2 separate regions of the Homo sapiens genome follow, and region 1 is linked to region 2. The links are contacts of gene promoters, found by promoter capture Hi-C in blood cells and fetal thymus (Javierre and others, 2016). All regions are on one chromosome and are shown on one strand. Each heading gives the region's core, a stretch centred on a gene start or on the middle of the fragment in contact. The rest is flanking DNA. Distances are from core to core; before and after follow the strand shown. Region 1 overlaps LOC107986047 (a long non-coding RNA gene). Region 2 holds the start of MBNL1 (muscleblind like splicing regulator 1).

What was found. Contacts are between HindIII fragments. The CHiCAGO score rates a contact against its expected background, and 5 or more counts as called.
Region 1: a fragment that was not itself captured here is called in contact with the fragment with the promoter of MBNL1 in region 2 in 1 of 17 cell types (neutrophils); the score reaches 5.6 in neutrophils.

What each region holds. Positions count from the first base shown.
Region 1 is chr3:151,938,649-151,945,240 of GRCh38, reverse strand. The region is part of intron 1 of LOC107986047 (a long non-coding RNA gene); the gene reads left to right. Among named protein-coding and RNA genes, the nearest start is that of AADACL2-AS1, 14 kb to the right of the region's middle. The HindIII fragment of the contact is 7,614 bases long and covers 1-6,188 here.
Region 2 is chr3:152,265,794-152,271,571 of GRCh38, reverse strand. MBNL1 (muscleblind like splicing regulator 1) reads right to left here and starts at 2,643. Exons shown (of 10, transcript NM_021038.5): 1 at 2,480-2,643. MBNL1-AS1 (MBNL1 antisense RNA 1) reads left to right here and starts at 1,946. Exons shown (of 2, transcript NR_027038.1): 1 at 1,946-2,144; 2 at 2,500-5,778. RefSeq lists silencers at 2,196-2,305, 2,706-2,755, 2,806-2,865 and enhancers at 1,756-2,597, 3,056-3,155, 2,598-3,440. The HindIII fragment of the contact is 10,088 bases long and covers 1-5,778 here.

The sequences.
Region 1 (6,592 bases), core at 1,132-3,631, 330 kb after region 2:
AAGACAGAGATGGTTGGAGTGATTTTAAAAATTACTTATATGCTGCAAAGAGAGCCACTTAAAATATAGTTACACAGATAGGTTAAAAGTAAAATGATGAAAAATAATATACCACATATATTAGTCCTTTTCACACTGTTAATAAAGATGAGCCCAAGACTAGGCAATTTACAAAAGAAAGAGGTCTAATAGACTTACAGTCCCACATGGGTGGGGAGGCCTCACAATCATGGCAGAAGGCAAGGAGGAGCAAGTCACATCTTATGTGGATAGCAGCAGGCAAAGAGAGAGCTTGTTCGAAGAAACTTACCCTTATAAAACCATCAGATCTTGTGAGACTTATTCACCATCATTAGAACAGCACGGGAAAGACCTGCCCCATGATTCAATTACTTCCTACTGGGTCCCTCCTACAACATGTGGGAATTCAAGATGAGATTTGGGTGGGGACACAGCCAAACCATATCACTACACAAACACTAATCAAACAAAAACTGGAATGACTATGTTAATATCACAAAGCAGACTCAGAGCAAAGATTACCAGGAATAAAGATGGACATTACATAATAAAAAGGCTTAATTTACCAAGAAGACATAAGAATTATCAATTTATATGAGCTAAGCCACAGATCTTCAAAACACACAAAGCAAAAACCTACAGCATTGAAAGAAAAAATAGACATATCAGCAAATATAGTTGGACAGTCAACATTTCTTTCTTAGTAACAGAAAGGACTAGTTAACAGAGTTAGCAAGGATATAGAAGAACAAAACAATGCCATCAACCAACTTTATCTACTTGATTTTTATAGAATTCTATCCAAAGATAGCAAAATACACATTATTTTGAGGGACACATGGAATATTCATCAAGATAGATGATATTCTGGCTCATAGTCACACATTAACAAACATAATTGAAATCACACAAAGTATGTTCTCTGACCATAATGGAATTATACTAGAAATAAATAACAAAAGAAAAAAACAAAACCTTCAAATATTTGAAAATTAAAGCTCATGATTCAAAATAATATGAGTCAAAGAAAATGTTTCAAGAGAAATTAGAACACATTTTGAATGAAAATGCAACATAACAAATTAAGTCAAATTTAGTTAAAGCAATGCACAAAGGGAAGATGTGTAACAGTAAATACATACATTATAAAAGGAGGAAAGTCTCTGTAATCTCAATTTCCGGTATAAGAAACTATAAAAACAATAGTAAAATAAGAAGCAGAAGAAAATACAGTTATGTGTCACAACAGTATTTTGGTCAATGATGGACTGCATGTACGACAGTAGTCCCAAAAGATTATAATGGAGCAGGAAAATTCCTATCACCTAGTTGACATTGTAGGTCCCAGTGCATTGCATGAACTTTGCTATATCTGTGTATCTAAACATAGATACACAAGTGCCATTCTGTTGTGGTTGCCTGCAGTATTCAGTAGAGCAACATACTGTATAGGTTTGTAGCCTAGCAGCAATAGGCATACCATATAGCCTAGTGCTATATCAGATGTGCAGGAGGTCATACCATCTAGGTTTGTGTAAATACACTCTGATGTTTGTACAACAAAATTGCCTAACAATGCATTTCTCAGAGCATATCCCTGTCGTTAAGCAATGCATCTTGTAATACATATAAGAACAGAAATTGTTAAAATTGAAAACAGAAAACAATAAACAAATTTTTCTTTTTCTTTTCTTTTCTTTTTTTTTTTTTTTTTTTTTTGAGACGGAGTCTCTCTCTGTCCCCCAGGCTGGAGAGCAGTGGCCAGGCCTCAACTCACTGCAAGCTCCGCCTCCAGGGTTCACGCCATTCTCCTGCCTCAGCTTCCTGAGTAGCTGGGACTACAGGCGGCGCCACCACGCCTGGCTAATTTTTTGTATTTTTAGTAGAGACGGGGTTTCACCGTGTTAGCCAGGATGGTCTCGATCTCCTGACCTCGTGATCTGTCCACCTCCGCCTCCCAAAGTGCTGGGATTACAGGCGTGAGCCACCGCGCCTGGCCAATGAACAAATTTTTTAAATTGTGCTTTAAAAAAAAAAAAAGCAAGACCAATAAACTTAATAAATATCTACAATGATTAACAAAGAAAAAAATAGAGGATGTAAATTACCAATACTAGGAAAGAGAGAGAGGATTTCGTTACAAAATCCAAAGATATCAAAAGAATAATAACAGAGAATTTCAAGATAAATAGGCAACTCAACTAGTCCTCTGTCTATTAAAGAAGCTGATTTTATACTTAAAAGTTCCTAAAAAAGAAGTATCCAGAACAAAAAAGCAAGACAAAGACTAACATGTTTAACAATTCAAAAGAAACACAAAATTCTCAATACAGTGGTCTCCCCCTTATCCTCAGGGGATATGTTCCAAGATCCCTAGTGGACGACTGAAACTGAGGATGCTACTAAACCGTGTGTGTGTGTGTGTGTGTGTGTGTGTGTACACACTATGTTTCCCTCCCATAAATACATACCTATGATAAAGTTTAATTTACAAAGTAGGCAGGGTAATATATTCACAACAATAACTAATAATAAAATAGAATAATTAAATGTTATGCTGTAATACAAGTTAGGTGAATGTGGTCTCTTTCTCTCTCTCAAAATATCTCATTGTACTCTACTCACTTACATTCAAACTATGGAATATGAGAAGATGCCTAACTTCACTAGCAATAAAAAAGCAAGTTAGAACCACAAGAGTTACCATGTCTTACCCAATCTTTAGGTGAAAAACTAAATCTGACACTGTCATGTTGGCATATATGTGGAGCAACAGGAACTTATGAATATTGGTGGTATGATGTATAAATTGGCCCAAACATTTAAAAAATAGATCAACATTTCATAGGAAGTTTGAATATGCTCATAATATATGATCTAAGGATTTCACTCCTGGAATAAATGTATAAAAATTAATAACATATTACAGGAAATAACCAAAATGTCCGACAATGGTAGAATGGAAAATACATTGTAGACTGGTTTTAAGGTGGAACACTGTTCAGCAGGGAAACTGAATGAGAGACAGTTACATGTGAGCTTTGCCCAGTGAATCTACCCAAACCTCATATTGAATGAAATAAGTAAGACATAGACATTATAGTGTAGGAATTCATATTCATAAGGTTCAAAAATAGGAGAAATATATCCATAAGTGGTAAAATCATTTAAAGCCGAAAGAACGTGGGATGATTATTATAAAAGTCAAAATGACGAAAACCTCTGTTTGTAGGATGGGAAGGTGATATAATTGGGAAGATGTATAGAGGATTTGGAAAAAACTGGCCAGTCTCTATTTCTTAACCTCAGCAGTGGACACATAGGTGCATCATTTACTAAAATTATTTAAGTCAATATATGCATTTATATATTGTTTTGTATGAATGATATTTTCTAATAAATGGAAAATTGCAAAGTGAAATAAACCACTTTTTATGAAATACCGAAACTGAATTACTGTGCTTGTCCAAAAAGCTGCATCCTGATGTGGGATATTTGGTTATAATTTTTCTCATTCTAACACATTCCAGTTTTGAACTCTTGACTCTTTGAAATGCCAAATGTAATTATAATGCGGTATTTTGTTTAAGCATGTGCAATTAAAAGGGCACCATTGAATTGTGGTAGTGTGTAATGTTTCCCAGCTGCTAAAGGTAGAGGACATAATTTTATGATGTGTATTTGCTCCTACCAAAGACTCTCTATTTTATAGATTTATATGATATTAGAAAGCTCTCCTTCATTCCACTACTCTCTATCTGGGTTTATAGGTTAGAAGTGAATTATAGTTTGGTACAGGAGTCAAAAGCCTGCCTTGAGAGTGCTGGCCCTTCATTTCAGGAAAACTACTCAGGGATAAAATGGCCAGTTTTTGAAGCCAGAATTGTCAGGGCATTATTGCTTATTTTATGCAGTTTTAAATATGCCAAGGACATATTTGGAGCTATGCTGAGAAGAAAGGGATCCCTGTCCAGTTAATTAAAACATGACTTTTAGCAAGTTGCAAGTAGAGAAGGTTCATAGGAACAAATTATAAATCTGCTTATTTATCTTCTACCACATTGTCTTTTACAGAATACTCTTTAACCCACTGTATTTCACATCTCAGCAGTTTCTTCTTCCCCATGATTCCTAAGACTTTTTTCTATCTTTGAAAACTAGAATGTAGCTCTTAGTTTTCCTTCCTGGATAGTTAATTCATACAAGATTCTGTGTGGATTACAGAATCAGACCCAGTTTTTAGAAGACTTGCTTCCTTGCTATCATACATCTTGTGTTATATAGTTTTCCTTGCTAGGTCATGTCTACATATAAATAGGCACATTTATCTGGAGATTTAAATTAATTACTATTTTTCATAAAATGGTATAAAATGAACTTTGACACTGGCTAGGGCTACTGAATTCTAGCCCTTTTCTATGTAAGTCATGAATATATTTGAAGACTACTGTATTTTTGCAGTGAAAATATAAGTAGCAGTGTTTTCACCATGTAATACAATAGTTACAGTGTTCCCTGAAAAGTCATGCTCTGTGCACTTAATTCAACTTGGCAGAAAACACCATTCCTTCTGTAGAAGATACTACTACTATGCACAGAAATTTATACAAGAAAGTATGTTTGCGGGCCTCTTGGAGCTAAAGTTTAAAACTTGCAACCTCAACTGGATCAAGTTTTCTGTGAATATTCTGTGGGAACGAAAAATATTTAGAGCAGAACTTTAACAATTCCTAAACAGACATCCATATACATGTGAACGTATGTGTGTGTATTTATTGATTTATTTTTATTTCATCCAAATAATTCACCTTGAACAACCAATTGAGATGAAATCAATCCATCAGATTTGAGAGATAACTAGCTTTCATCTTATACAGGCAATATATGGAGATAGGTCCCCAAATACCTAAATATTAAAATTTCCAAATCTTATTATTTTAGTGGTACTCAGCCATAATAAATCAAAGCAAGTGATTCTCTTATTACATTTTTGTTTGTTTTAATTATATTGAAATATTGTATATGCACATATACATATGCAAAGACCATTGATGTATAGCTTAACAGATCTTAACAAAACAAAAAAAACCCAGGACCCATATCCAGAGACAGAATAATACTGTATCTTAGAAGTCTCCCTCATATCCTCTTCCAGTCACACTCTGTCTCCACAAAAAAAGCTGCTGTCTGACTTTTATTACCACATTAATTTTTCCTGCCTTTGAACTTTATGTAAATAAAATCATAACATGTACTTGTTTGTGTCTTTCTTTCCTACTCAAGAATATGAGATTCATTTATGCTGTTTTATATATTTGTATTTTGCTCATTCACATTACTGTTTTGTATAAAATAATTATTTTGAGGTATAATCTATTATTAAAATACTAATTAGGCTGGGCATGGTGGCTCGCTCCTGTAATCCCAGCACTTTGGGAAATGGAGGCTGCTGATCACTTGAGGTCAGGGGTTTGAGACTAGCCTGGCCAACGTGGTGAAACCCCGTCTCTACTAAAAATAAAAAAGTTAGCCAGGCATGGTGGCACACACCTGTAATCCCAGCCACTCGGGAGGCTGAGGCAGAAGAATCGCTTGAAACCCAGGAGGCAGAGGTTGCAGTGAGCCGGGATCGTGCACTGCACTCCAGCCTGGACGACAGAGTGAGACTGTCTCAAAAAATATAAAATAAAATACCAATTTGAGGGAGACTGGTTCAAACCCAGTGGTAACAGGACATAAAAGGGATCAAAGGAGCTACAGGAAAGCTAATAGCTTCTTTTTCTAACTCCTCCATCCTGTATAGAAAAGATTTGTTTATTCCTTATTTTATATAAGTACAACTTGCTAACCGATTGTGCAACTGGAGCTCCTTATTTCTTATTTCAATTAGCGAAACCCTATTATCAGGCTATTGGCATTTACCTTATTCTAATTTAGCAGACCTTGGCGATTGGCTGACATAAAAGCCATTAACAACACCTTTGCCCCTTTCCACTTTCCTCTATAAAAGCTGAAAGGGCCAAATATATTATTTTCAATCATGTTACTACTAAAAGTGACCATGTGATACAGTCTTGACCAGTTAAATTTAAGAGGGAGTTTCTGGGGATTTCTGGAAAAACCTTTGCTTTTTTTACTAAAGATAGTAGCGTAAGAGGAGAGAAGCTTAATGACATTCTTTACCTCATCTTCCTGCCTTGCTGCTGGATATGATTCCTGGAACTTCAGCAGCCCTTTTGGGACCATGAAGCAATGAGCATGGAAGTGAAAAGGTAACACATCAAAGTGATCAAGTCCAAAGGTTATGGTAATCAAAGACTTTGATTATACTATTGTGATACTGAACACATTTTTAGACTTATTGTTAAGCAAAATAGAAATTTCCTTATAATTTAACCCCATTGTTAGAGCTTTCCTTAATTGCAGCCAAAAGTGTATCCGATATACCATTTATCTGGATATTTAAGATAGAGGCATGCACCTTAAAAATTGCATGAAATTATGCTGTATTTTATATTAGCTTCTTGAAAATCAACAACATCTTGATTAGAAGAGTAAAACTGAACTGTGC
Region 2 (5,778 bases), core at 1,394-3,893:
AGACCTGAGATGTTCTCTAATCCGCACATCTATCACCAAGCAGAAAGCCAGAAGGTGCAGCAAGATTATTTATTCTCTGTTTCCATATAGATCTATCAAATACAGGCCTAATGTATGGCAACAGTGACAAATGCAAGGGCATTTTTTTCTTATAATGAAGATAAGGCATTTTATATAATAAAGTAACACACCCTTCCTCAATGAGAAATACAATTTTCAATGAGAAATATAATTTTACTCTTTTTTTTTCCCCCAGGAGAAATTTTGGGTTAGTCTGTTCTTGTTCTGGAACAAAACCCAGTGTTTCATTTCATAGGAATTCTGTGCCCAAAGGAAGAACAGAATGTTGGAATCAAAATTTAATGAATTCAACTTGGAGTCTAACTTTGCCTCAAATGTGGAAATGTAAACACAAGCAATAATATCTCAAACCATATAACACTTCAGTTTCTCTTTGGCATGACTGCGCAGAGTACCACACTTGATGTGTATCTACACACAAATTTGTTCACAGTTACATAAGGAAAAAAATTAAACTAGGCATATGTGAGGTTTTTCTGAGTCTCTTAGTAATAATGAAATCTGATTATTATGTCTTAAGTGACACTATAATTATAGATGAACAGGTTTTCTGTTGCTGACCCAACCTGTTCCTTAAAACACAAAAGGCAACTTTTGTAGTCTTCAGCAAGGAAACCCCCCATTAAACAAATAAGACTAAAAAAGCTATGCCTACATTTTCAAAGAAGACCTAACAATATAATAATAATAATAAAGTAACTCCCATGCAAATACACAAAACAGATAAAAACTAGAACATTAGGTTTTCTAAAGAAGTTTAGCCTTAGTTGTCACCAACTTTAAGAAAGCAAGATACAAGTGACAGCGATGTGCATTCTCAGGCTACAAAATAACTTATTCAGTGCCTCTATCTATAACTACATCTAAGACATTCTAAGTATTGAACTGCACATTCCTGGGATAAATTTTACAGTCGTTGAACTTTCATTTTCTCTCTGGGTGATAATATTTTATCTCAACAGCAAGGAGAAACACCAACACACTTAGGAATCCACACAGAGAGATAACTGTGGAGTGGCTCTCTTGTGCTGGTATAGAATACTTAGGTACTAAACACCCTCTGTGTATAAACAGACACTGTGTTCAAACCCAGGAGGAAGGGACATAGTGTCCACCGGTGTAGTATTTCAAAGCACGCTGCAGAGGGCTCGAAAGTCTAAAAGCATTAATTATGACTTCTCTCCTAGCGTATTAATTTAAGAAACTCCTCAGAGTATATGGCAGAGTTTGCCATCCATCTGCTATGACTTGTGCCTGTGCTGGTGGGCACACAAAGTGAAGTCAGCGGCAACAACCTTTCCGGCAGCTTCTTAACTTTAATCCTGGGGAGACATACTCCACGGAAATACACCCCAGAATCCCAACAGCCGCATACTCTCCCGGCCCCAGAGAGCCTTAAGAATACAATATTACTCTGGCAGCAACACCCCTGTAGTTGTAAAGTGCTGTGCGAGGGGAAGGCATAAGCGCCACCATATACCTGCTCGTGTTACAGGCTCTGGAATCAAAGTATTCTCACATGACACATTACTACCAATAACAGATTCCGGCTCCGTTTAAAAAAAAAAAAAAAAGTTGGGGGGTGGCTACATATTTGTCCTGCTTTTGTCTAAAAACCAGAACCCAAGTACTAACTACTTTTCATTCTTTTCAACCTTTCATGAAAGCAATTCAACCAACTGCGGCTCCACCCAAAGAGCTTCTATACTTACTTTTCTTACAGTTTTTGAGTGACGCACTACAAAACGATGAAAAAAAAAAGAAGAAGAAGAAAAGGAGGAGGCAGCCCTCTCCTACAGGGCGTCTTCCGCCCTGTAAACTTGGCAAAAGGCAAACTGGCCTGAAATACAGCACTCTCCATATAAGGCAGCCCAGCTAAACATGTCATGCGTAATTTATGGGTAGCAAGCAGAGAATTAACCTTTGCGTGCACATATTTGGCCCAGATGAAAACCGGGCGGGATGGCAGCCCCGGGGCCAGGGATGCGGGAGCCGCCGGGAAGACCCGCGCGCCGCTCGACTCAGAGGGACTCACACCTTCCCCCGACAAAGGTCATTAAGTTGTGAGTACACTTGCACGCACCTGTTTCTCTTCTCGCCCCCCTGTTTCTCCCTGGGTCCCGCTGGGCTGCCAAGCCGTGCGCGGGCTGTGCCGTGACAGCGTCCGCAGAGCCCGCGGCAGGGAAGGGCGCAGGAGCGGCTGCGGCTCACCCTCCCGCCTTCCCCCGGGCAGGAGGTGCTGAGGGACGCGAAACCAACTACCGCGAGCGGCCCGCCCCTGCCCGGGAGAACCGCGGCCGGCGAGCACCTCCTCGCACTTCCTCCTTCAGCCACGGGCAGACCCGCCGGAGTCCGAACAATGAAGCGGCGCGGGGAAACTGTGAAAATGGAAACTTACCTCTCACATTTTTTTTTCAGAGGCGGCCCCACTGTCGACCAAGTGCCCAAGGCATTGTGGGAGTCATGATTCCAAGATGCCCGCGACGGAAAATGGAACTTGTCAGCTCCTTGTCATGGGAGCATTGTGGGCGCCACAACTCATTCAGCTGCAGTGAAAAGACTGTTGCATGTCGCTGTGCAGCCTCTTATCGCCGAGGTCTGGCTTCCGCTGCTGCTGCGCGGCCCCTCCCCCGCCCGCCCAGCCCCACCAGGAAGCCCAGGGCGGACTCGTCGAGCTCCTAATGCACGCGGCGGCGAGAAAAACGCTCTTCAACTTTCCGCCGGCGCCCTCCCGCGCTTCCCCGGGCCACAGGGTCGCCTGTCAACCGGACAGAGCCCGCAAGAGCGGGTCATGGGCGGTCGCCCAGCGGCGCCGAGAGCAGGAGGAAGCCGGAGCCCGCGCGGGCGCCGTGGATCCCCTCGGCCTCCCGTTGGTATCTTCCATCTCATGCGTTCAGCATTGTAACCTCGCGGCGGGCGTGCAGACCGGACGCCCTCCCGCTTCTTCTACCGACTGCTAGGCACACCAGTGGGTTCATTTTGAAAGAGGCCCTTGCACCGGGCTTTGCAAGGAAGCCGGCAAGGTTAGATTGAAGGTTAGAAGCCAATTAGACTAGAATCCTGCGATCTGGTGAGACTGCCGCCTTAAAATGCACCAAACAGTTTTTGAACCTGGAGGGCTAACAGGCGGGAAAAACATCTGCAAGACTGCCACCGTGTATTTTTCTCAAGTAACAGGCTATCCACAGTTTTGGAATTCCTTAGTGAAACTGTCACACAGGCACAAACACATGTCAGCTTTCCTTCTAGTTTGTAAATAATATTTGTAATTTACAGGCCACTGTATTCCCAACTTTGCACCATGTGATTTAGAGAAAGCAAAGCTCCCTCTTTAAAAATAATATGTTACTTCTGAAATACCGGGATATTCCACGGCAAGTAAGCCATATTGTCGCCAGAGCAAATAAACCGCAGCCCCATATCATAATTCACTGGGTGCTATAAGATGTAACTTGGCTTTGCTTTGAATGGAAAGAATCCTGAACGTCTGTGATGTGATGAAGTTTTGGAGACTGGGGGCAGGATTTCCTTTGAATGTAAGGAATTCGGATAACTTGTTCAAGGATGATTCTAGTGAAAAACGTTTGTCCCATGTTTGTTGGGACAAAAATGCTGGATATGGTACAACATTCTTCCTGCAGGTTCGGTTTTGTTGAAGAGAGTGAGGCCAGCTCGAGGTGAAGGAAAAACATCAGAAAGGTGCTAAAGTGCAGAAATATCTTCCAGAGGCACTAATAGCCGACTTTAGTTCTTGACCTTTAGCTAGATCCACAAAGCACTGAGTTAAAATTGTACACTGATCCCTTCCAGAACAAATTAATTAATTAAATGGTGCCTCTTCCCAGCGTTAATCGTTTAAAAGGACTCAAGTACCCACACAGTTTAAGCAAACTAAAAGAACACTGACACTTTCTCAGAGAACAGGGATGGGAACTTTCTATCTGCCCATTAGTATCTACCCCAAGCTACGAAGACTTCCATTCCTCTTATTAAGCATTCAGCAACTACATTTAGTGCCTACTATGCCAGTGATGCAAGAATGGATAAGACAGTCCCTACACTCAAGGATAACGCCTCTAGTAGGTGAGAGACAAACCGATTAATTCTGCATAAGGGATAAGTGCTGTATGTGGGAAGCAATCCAATGAGGGCTCTGAGGATGGCAAAGGAAGGGTTCCTGGAGGATTTACATTTAACTGGTGCCTTGAAAGGTGTGTAGAAGTTGGCAAGATCAAAAGGGAGTAGAGTCCAGGTGGAGAAGAGAAAAGAGCAGGGCAGGCTGGATGGCATGGCTCACACCTGTAATCCCAGCACTTTGGGAGGCCATGGAGGGAGGATTGAGGCCAGGAGTTTGAGACCAGCCTGGGTGACATTAAAAGACCCTGTCTCAAAGAAAACGAAAGGAGCAGGGTATATACAAGGGGTCTGCCAGCCTTCTCAGCCTTTCTGTGAGAAGCGAGGGTAGGGTAGTACAGGAGAGTGGCAGGAGATGACACTAAAAGTAGGTCTGTGTTGATCTAACGAGTCTCAACTTTACTGCCAAAACTAATGAACTAGGAAAGTTTAGGCAGCAAGGGCCAGAGATGGAGTCTGGACTTGTATTGCAGAAAGTTCCTGTGACGGCAGCTTGGAGGGTGAATGAGAGTGTGGGATGGAGGGGTGAATGGGTGTGGACAGACTGGAAAAATGACTCATGCAGGGAATGAGGAAGGGAGGAGCCTTGGGAGACTCTCAAATCCCTGGCTTAGCCTACTGAATTGCTTGCTACTTGCCTTTTTATGTCTTCATTTTGCCTCCCATTGTCTGTGATATTAAAGGCCTAACTTCTTAGTAGAGCAAACTTTGCATCTGCTAGCAGGTTGGTGCCCTAGCTAGCTTCCATGCCCCTCTGCTTAGAATGCCTGCGAACCACTAAGGACTAATCCTAGTGGTAGAAATTTATTTTCAATTGTTCTCAAACCCTTGTAGAATTCCAAGTTAGAACTGTAGTGTTCTTTTTTCATGTGGGTTAGAAAATTTGCTGTTTGGAGCAACATGGTGAAACACAGGACTTTTGAACCTGCTTATGGTGCAAAAGGGGAAATTATATTTCTACTTCAACACTGGAGGAGGGGGGACTTCTGGGAGCAAAAGAGAAATGGAAACTGAGATGAGACATGTTTTTTACTCCATGACAGAATACAAAGAAATACAAGGATGATCCTTTAATGTTAGAAACAGTAGAATAACCATCCTGGTAAATAAAAAAGGAGAAAAAATGTTATTTTACATTAGATACAGAAAAACAGAATGGCTAAGAAAACTCACAAAGCAATGGTCAATCTATAACTCGAGTCCAAATAAATTGTGATATAACACTAAATTACCACTGATTTGGCCTAATTGACTATCACTGGATAACATTATAACATGAATGATAATATTTAAAATTTTAAAGCACTGTAACAAACACCAGATCATGTTAAAACTATTCAATCATGTTGTCAGCTTTCAACTGCCAGTAGCATCCTAACCACATTTCAAACTATGGAAATTACTAAAAAATCATTATTGTAATAAAAAGTTAATAGTTCCTCATTTAGAATACCATTGATATTCCCTCAGTGCCAGGAGAACATTATGGTTTCTCCTATTTCTGTGAAGTGTATAGTCTACAGGTTCATAAGTGAGTATATCCATGAGTATAAAAAGAAGGTC